3 separate regions of the Homo sapiens genome follow, and regions 1 and 3 are each linked to region 2. The links are contacts of gene promoters, found by promoter capture Hi-C in blood cells and fetal thymus (Javierre and others, 2016). All regions are on one chromosome and are shown on one strand. The core of a region is centred on a gene start or on the middle of the fragment in contact, and the rest is flanking DNA. Distances in the headings are between cores, read along the strand shown.

Region 1 (2,700 bases), core at 29-2,528, 6.7 Mb before region 2:
GGATTTTGACTTGGTAGGTCTAAAGCGAGACCCAATAATCTGCACTCGATAACGAGTACTTCAGATGATTCCAATGTGATCTCCCAGTCACGGACTGGGAAAAAAGCATTCCAAACTATTTTGTAGATCTCGAGAAAGACTTCAGAATGTTCGTGTCTCACAGGAAATAGCAAAAACAATATAGCATTCCAAAATCCTACCTAGCTTTGTACCGTGTACTTTGCTATTGCTGTTGGATTCAATTACAACGGAAATATTTGATGTGGTAAAATACTGAGCAGTGATGCTAACCTTTTATAGTAGACACTGGGAAGCAGAAAGGAAGTGTAAACACGTTTCCCTTAAAAACTAGTCTTGCTGGGTGGATAAAGTGTGCATACCTATTTTACAAATAAAGAATAGTGCCGCACTAGCTTATGTACGTAATATGTGCTTAACAAACATTTGTTCATTGAGTAAGTAAGAGTCAAGTCGAATGGCTCAGATTGTAAGTGCTATGAGAATTCCACTGTAAGAAGAGGGAAGTATGCCTTCTTTTCACCATTAAAGATCTGATTGCTGATATTGGCATTTTTGCCAGTAGAAGAGCCTGGACGTTGGCAGTTTTCAAAGCCCCCAGGTGATTTGACTGCGCAGCTAAGTTTGAGAACCACGGAGGTAAAGGAAGGGAGTACCTTAAAGAGCTAGGATTAGGGATAATATCAATAGATCACCTTTAAGGCTGCACCTCAGCCTAATTAAATCAGAATCGCTGGGGGTGGGACTTGGCTATCAGTCATCTTTAAAGCTCTCCAAGTGATTCCAATGTACAGACGTGGTTGAGAGCCATTGCTTTACTTGAATTCTCAGTGGTTCTTAATCCTGGCAGCATAATAGAGTCACCAAAGATACATATATATATATCAGTTCAGGAAGCAGAGTTGTTTCAGATGCTAGAACACCTCCAACGAGCAGTCACAGCTCTGTAGTTCTAGTGCCGCCGCTGCCAGCAAGTTTGTTGTGACCCTGGCGGCCGAGTTACTTTCAGCGCTCTGGGCGGTCTCGCAAGAAACACTGACGCTTTGGGACTTCATTTCCCAGCAAGACCCGCGGCCGCCTATCGCGCGAGTCATGCCGGGCACCTCGTCCCCCTGTCCTCTCTGGCGGAGCTGCCTGGCGGAAGCGGGAACGTCGCATCCTGAGGTAAAGGTGCACGGCATCCTGGGACATGTAGTCTGGCCGGGGCTCGGACGCCCCCTCGGATGAATGGGACCGAAGCTGACTGCGAACTACAGCTTCTTGGCAGCGTCGGTGTTGGCCGCGGGAGAAGGGGAGACCGCGGCGGCCCCCAGTGAGAGCGGCTTTCCAGGACGGTGCGATGTGCTGCGCAGCGAAGAGGCAGGAGGCCGGCTTCCTGGGGTAGCGGTACAGGCGGGCGCTTACTCTGTGCGCTTGCTTCCCCAACCCTGCACCGGCCATGCGCCCGGCCTTGGCGGTGGGCCTGGTGTTCGCAGGCTGCTGCAGTAACGTGATCTTCCTAGAGCTCCTGGCCCGGTGAGTGACCCGCTCGGGCCGCACCCGGTCTCCCGGGGCGGGGCGGAGGAAGCCAGAGGAGAGGTCCCCCCGGGACGCGCCCACGCCCTGTCCCCACCCCGCCGCCCACGGAGCCCGGGGCAGGACGGCCTGAGCCCCCCAGCAATCCGTCCTGTCTGGGCAGCCTGGGACCCCGCTGAGTCCGCTGCTTCCCAAAACTGCGCACCGGCGGCAGTCCCGCCTAACAGTTTCAAAGCATTCCTGCGAGGGGAAGACTCAGGGTGTTGCTGTCGTCACCCCTTTTCCACACTCGGGGGGTATTGAAGTCTGAAGAGTTTTTCACATGACCAGTCCAAGGTCGGCAGAGAGCTAGTGTCAGAACCAAGGTTCCTTCACCAAACCACTCTCTCTTCCTTCCCATCCAACTCTAGCTCTTTTTTCGATCCTGTTAAATGGCACAGGCTGGACTTGAGCAAAGGTTTTTGACTTGTAAAGCAGTCTGACTTTGTACATACTGCAAAGAAAGTTTTATTTTTATTACGGCATCCTGCAAAGCATTTGCTTTATTGGCCTTGGAAATGGTTATGAGTACTTTGCCCAAACATACATAAATGATGCGGTAGAACAGATTTTTATGTAGAAGATCAGTCCACGTGACCCGAGAGTGCTCTTTGAGGTGGCTTGCAAAAAGACAAAAAAAAAAGCAAGTAGAAGATTGGTCCAAGTGACCTGAGAGGGCTCTTTGAGGTCACTTTGAATGTGCAAAGTTCAGTGGATAGAAGCTATAACAGAAGAGACAACAGGTGGTGTGGAAAAGCCTCCAGGACTAAAAAGCTGGGTTGTGAATTTCACTCTTGGCTCCGTCGTCCACTGGCTGTGTAGCCCTTCAAGTCACTTAGCCTCTCTTGGGCTCCTTTTCCTGGCAGTAAAACAATACCTATAGTGTTCTCTAGCTCGTGTTTCTGAATCTATACATTACAAGTTGAGTATCCTTCATTTGAAATGCTTGGGAACGGGTGTTATTTGGTGTTTTTTGTTTTTTGTTTTTTTTTTGGATTTGGGAGTATTTGCATATACATAATGAGATATTTTACGGATGGTACCCAAATCTAAACACAAACTCATTTGTGTTTCTTATACACCTTATACACATAACCTTAGCTTGAAGGTAATTGTATACAATATTTT
Region 2 (2,700 bases), core at 101-2,600:
GCCACCGCACCAGGCCTAAAATAGAATTTTTCAAAACTTTCTACAACAGCAAAACTTGTGGAGCCTTGGGAGAAAGTATCACAAAAGATATTTGCTGTTGCAGATACAAATGTCAGAACTGCAGTATGAAACGACATCTAGAAGTTTACAGTCATCATAAACCAGAAAATTGGTAAAACCAAGAAATGTCAGGTTCCAAGATTTGGAAGGGTTTTGGGGAGGACAACTGGGGGCAAGTGATAAACTGAATTTATATTATCAAATTATCATGGAGCTAGGAGTAAATTGTAAAAATAAACTTTGCAGGTTCAAATTCAAAATTGAAGAATTTTCAAAAAGTTGAGGGTATATAAAATCAGGCAGAATCTATAGTGCTATGAGCACTAGACCAGGAATCCGAACACTTGGGCTCTTGCTATGGCTCCAACCCAAACCACCATGTGACCTTAAGCAAGTCACTTGCCTTCTTCAAGCCTATCTCCTTATCTTTAAGGGACGGGAGAACAATGATGATTACTAAGATTCTTGCCGGCCTAACCTTTTAGAAGTCAAAAGTACACAAAGATCAGGAGCTTTCAGGTCGACACAAGAGGTGGAGGGAAAGAGAGGAAAAGAGGGCCACAGAGTGAGAAAACTTGGGAGTCAAGTAACAGCGTTTGTGGGAACAGAAAAGTTTCATGATGGCCAAGTACTAGTAGAGAAGAGCCGATGTCAGGATCTCGAAAAACTACTAACTACTCAGCATATGTCAAAATGAACAGAAAGACGGGGGATGGGAGGACAGATATCAACGAATTGTCTCTGTTAATCAATCAGTAATCGATCTGTCCTGGTAAACAGACAGGAGATCCGAATGCCGCAACCTCGGAAATCACTGTGACCCCTGATGTCAAGGTGTCCGGGAGGCAAGGAACAAGGGGACTCCGTGTCTGCTTCCGTCTAGTGAGAGGATTCGGAGAATCGACGAAAAGTGAGGAAGGGGGCAGAGGAAAGGGGATCTGGGACATGGAGCAGGCTGGCGGAAGGTGGAGTCAATGCCTGACTCCCGCCCGAAGGCAGGCAGAGGGGTCGGTGTCCGGGGCCCGTTCTCACCATCTTGATGATGCCCCGCTGCACGGTGGGGACCGCGGGTCCCCCGGAGGAGCCGCCGCTCTGCGCGGAGGACGCCATGTGTGGAGATGCAAAGGCAACGAGTGGAGCGGCTGGCCGGACTGGAGGTGTCAATGTGGGTGTCGGTGTTGGTGAAAGGGAGTCGAGGCGAGGGGCAGGCTGGCTACCAGCTGCGGACGGTGGACGGGACGGACTCGCCGGGCGCTCACAGGAGCAGCAGCGGGACACGGAGCGAAAGAGACGCGATCTCCGCCGCCGCCACACGTTCTACTCGCCGCGCAAGCGTGCCAGAGCGCCACCGCCCTCCGCCCAATTAGCGCCCAGAGCCCGCCGGCCCTCAGGCCAATAGGCACCCTGCTCGCGGAGCCCCGCCTCTTGGTCCCCAAAACGGTGGTGAGTTCCAGGAAGCGCTGAAAGAGTTGATTTGCAAGGATGGGCTAAATATGGGGCGGGACTTCCGGGGCAGCCGGAGTAGGTAATGTCGGGAGGTGTAGTGGGAAGGAAAGGACACGTCAGCATCTGGCCGCGGGGCGCGGGGGGCCATGGGAGCCCCAGGGGCGGAGCCAGCCGCGCCCTCCCGCCTGACCTCGCCCATGACGTCCTTCCCCGCTGGCCTCAGGGGCGCACACTTGTATACCCACCTAGGTGGGCGCCGCTGTACCCGGGAATGCGGCCTGGGAGGGTGGAGCCACGCAGGCAGAGTCCTGGAGGAATCTCCGTACCCGCTCCACTCGACTTCCGACATTTTACCTTGGCTAAAAGTATGGAGAGAACTTGGAAAATCAGAGCTTTGTGGAACCTCCTACCGATGTGGGCTTTGACCTGCCACGCGGCCGCGCGCCCTTTTTGTAGTCAGAGAGTGTGCCTCGCCCTTGTTTGTGTCGCTGGGGTCTAGCACTTGTGAGGCGTTCCATTAATGTTTGTTGGTGGGAGGAATAAATGTCTCAGAGGAAGGACATGCCACGTATACAGGGGAGAGTGACCCTCGTTCTTCGGTCTCTTCCCAGCTGCTCCCGTGACGTTAGGGAAAAGGCTCGCTTCACGCTCTCACCCGACCCAGTGTGAAGCGCCTCCAGCCACCGGATACCTTCCCTAGCCCCAGTAAAAAGGTCGGGGAAGGAACGGGAAAGCCAAGGCCTACAAATATTTAAGTGACTGTTTAGCGAGAACTAATATTCGTTGAGTGCCCACTATGTGGAACCAAGGACCTTGCATGTGTTATGTCATTTAATCGTAAAACTTGGCTCTACACTGAAGACAGTACTTCCCTTGCAGTTCTTTTTGTTTCTTTGGTTTTGTGGCTTTTTTGAGACAAAGTCTCGCTCTGTCGCTCAGGCTGGAGTGCGGGGGCACGATCACGGCTCACTGCAGCCTTGACACTCCCAGGCTCAAGCGATCCTCCTGCCTCAGTCTCCGGTGTAGCTGGAGCTGGTACCACGGGTCCGCGCTACCACGCCCAGCTAATTTTTTTTTTGTAGAGCTGAGATTTCACTATGTTGCCCAGGCTGGTCTCCTGGGCTCAAGCTATACTCCTACCTCGGCCTCCTAAAGTGCTGGTATTACATGCATTAACCACAGTGCATGGCCCCT
Region 3 (2,745 bases), core at 127-2,626, 6.8 Mb before region 2:
CAACCTCCAAGTCAAGAGGACTCTCATGGAGGAAGGAACTTGCTGTTTTACACAAAGCAAGTTCCCAGCTTTAGGCTCAAGTTCAAATTCTATTACTTGGGGACAAATGAATTTGCCCAATAGCAACAATTTTTACAAAAGTTACATGGAAAAATATCTGGGCTAGTCTGTTCTGTATAAATTTTTCCAGGAGGGAGCACTTTTAAAGAAAGCACCAAATGGAAAATCACCGGCATGGAGTTTAGAGAGACCTGGTGCTTGAGTCACTACCAGGCAGATGGAGTTCCCAATCTTGCATAATTAGGGGAAAGATCGGAGGGTGATGGAGCAGAAAGAGCAGTTGGGGTGAGGTAGAGTATCATGAAGAGAGGTTGTTGGAAAGAAACCAAAATTGTCTTCAAGGATCTTCAAGTGACTTTTCTTAGGCTATCTTGGAAAAATGTGTGTTTCTACCTGCCAATTAGGGTGATCAATTTACTATTTTGTACCTTCTAATTTGAAATACTGGAAGCTACAATATTAGAGTCAACTTTTTCTTCTGTGGTTTTCTGTCTGTTCACTTTTCTTCCTCTAGAGAGTTTTGATAAGTTACTGTACTGGAACTTACTGCTTTGATAGAGTCTCACTTTCCAAAGACTGATGAAATTTGTCTTACTGATTCTGAATGGACAGCCTTACTTTCCAAATTCTTCTGAGAGTTCTGGATCAAGCCCATCAAGGCTTTCTAACCTCAAGAACATCAAAGGATGCTGGCTTTTGGTGGAAGGCTTGCTGAACCACACCTAGTATGCACAGACACAGCTAACACCTAGAGTGGGGTGCAAAGAGAGATCTAGAAGGCTACAAAAAGTCTGGGCAAACCCATATTTTGTGAAGGTGCTTTGCAAAAGGATTGCAAGCCATTTTTCTGGCATGCACCTTTGTCTAAGAACAAAGTGCGGTAAACTATATGTGTAGTCAGTATGATTCACATAGATTAAGGACAAGGTATTCGTCAGATTCCCAAAGAGCATCAAACTGGGGTTGGACAACAAAGGCATTCTTCTGGGCTCTTAATGAAACCAAAACTTATTTCTAGTCTATGTATTTATGGGATGCCTGTTATTTTCGCTAAAGCATTCGCTTTCCCACCAGATACAGCAGCTGAGGAACTCCTTTCTGCCACGCGGGGCGCGGGCGAGCGTTGGGGGCGGAAAGAATCCGCTGCCACTAGGACCAGGCGGAAGAAGCATCCCCGCCGACCCTTGGGGAAGGCCGCCGCGGCACCCCCAGCGCAACCAATCAGAAGGCTCCTTCGCGCAGCGGCGCGCCAACCGCAGGCGCCCTTTCTGCCGACCTCACGGGCTATTTAAAGGTACGCGCCGCGGCCAAGGCCGCACCGTACTGGGCGGGGGTCTGGGGAGCGCAGCAGCCATGGCAAGCCGTCTCCTGCTCAACAACGGCGCCAAGATGCCCATCCTGGGGTTGGGTACCTGGAAGGTAGGTGCTCGTGGGGGCGCGGGCCCGGGGCTCGCCTCACACTCTCCGCGCGGCCTGTATTGGCGAGGGACCCCGAGTGACCCTGAGCAGCTCGCCCCGCGGACGCCCGGCGTGCTGGGAGCCACGCGCGGGCTTGCAGGGTCCCCAGCGGGCTGGGGTCGGCCTTGCAGAGACCGGGGGCCTTGGCTCCCCGGGTTGGCCCTGGGCGTCAGGGCAGCATCCTGCGAGTGGGGTTTGGGAGCAGCTCACGGGAGCCCCCGCCCTACCGCGGGCAACCCTTGATGGGCGGCCCACCAGTCCGCATTTTGGGTCCTAGCGGGCGCCCCAAGCGGCACAACGCGAGAGGGAGGCGGGGAAAGTGGGCTTCACAGACCGGTGGACCTCGGGCGCAGACAGGGACGTGGAGCCGTCGGCAAGGTGTGGGAGCGCAGACCCAGCCTCCTTTCCCTCGAGGCACCTGTAGCCCGGTTGCCTCACTTGTAAATAGTTGGTCTCAATCGTTTCGATTCTTGCCCTCCCTGAGGAATAAGCATCTCAAGCCGGTAGAGGGCAGAGAATTAGGTGGCGCGAGTTTGCCCGGACCCAGCTGTTAACAAGGCGCAGTGCGGAGCTCCTCGGCCAGGCGCCGCCTCGGGGTGCCCTGGGTCTGGAACTCGGGAGAAAAATCTGGGCACCCCGTAGCTAGTTGATAATTCAGGAGGCGCCAAGGTTAGCATTTTCCCTGTAAAACCTCAACACCACACAGCGTCCCCGAGAAGTGCCTAGCCGGATGAGAATGACAATAGGACATGAAACATCATAGGATATGAAAAATGATAATATGATATGAAAAACCAAAAATAATAGCCTGAGCCTGATTATCTGAAAATTGAGCAACAAAGGTGGTGGTATGGGAGCTGAGGCAAAACCTAGAATTTTTAACCTTCTAAGTATTGCATATTATATTCCACAGCCATAACCTGGGTTTCTCAGTTTCTGTTTTTGTTGTTTGCTTGTTTGTTTGTGACAGGGTCTCGTTGCCCAAGCTGGGGTGCAGTGGCACAATCATGGTTCATTGCAGCCTGGAACTCCTGGGCTCAAGTGATCCTCCTGCCTCAGCACTGCGGGTAGCTGGGACTACAGGCGCTCACCACCACACCTGGCTAATCTTTTTTCTTCCCCGCAGAGACAGTCTCCGCTTGTTGCTTAGGGTGATCTCCAATTCCTGGGCTCAAAGCGCTCCTCCCACCTCGCCTCCCAAAGCTACAGGTGTGAACCATCTGGCAG

The links. Contacts are between HindIII fragments. The CHiCAGO score rates a contact against its expected background, and 5 or more counts as called.
Region 1: the fragment with the promoter of SLC35B4 here is called in contact with the fragment with the promoter of SND1 in region 2 in 1 of 17 cell types (non-activated CD4 T cells); the score reaches 6.7 in non-activated CD4 T cells.
Region 3: a contact is called between the fragment with the promoter of AKR1B1 here and the fragment with the promoter of SND1 in region 2, in 1 of 17 cell types (total B cells). The highest score is 8.0, in total B cells.

What each region holds. Positions count from the first base shown.
Region 1 is chr7:134,315,508-134,318,207 of GRCh38, reverse strand. It overlaps SLC35B4 (solute carrier family 35 member B4), which reads left to right and starts at 1,278. Exons shown (of 10, transcript NM_032826.5): 1 at 1,278-1,533. The coding sequence starts at 1,457. RefSeq lists an enhancer at 758-1,487 and a silencer at 1,568-1,737. The HindIII fragment of the contact is 10,331 bases long and covers 1-2,700 here.
Region 2 is chr7:127,650,844-127,653,543 of GRCh38, reverse strand. It overlaps SND1 (staphylococcal nuclease and tudor domain containing 1), which reads right to left and starts at 1,350. Exons shown (of 24, transcript NM_014390.4): 1 at 1,093-1,350. The coding sequence starts at 1,170. SND1-DT (SND1 divergent transcript) reads left to right here and starts at 1,712. Exons shown (of 2, transcript NR_186577.1): 1 at 1,712-1,871. RefSeq lists enhancers at 1,132-1,311, 1,136-1,754 and a silencer at 1,552-1,801. The HindIII fragment of the contact is 9,151 bases long and covers 1-2,700 here.
Region 3 is chr7:134,457,731-134,460,475 of GRCh38, reverse strand. AKR1B1 (aldo-keto reductase family 1 member B) reads left to right here and starts at 1,376. Exons shown (of 10, transcript NM_001628.4): 1 at 1,376-1,479. The coding sequence starts at 1,414. RefSeq lists a silencer at 1,577-1,766. The HindIII fragment of the contact is 6,251 bases long and covers 1-2,745 here.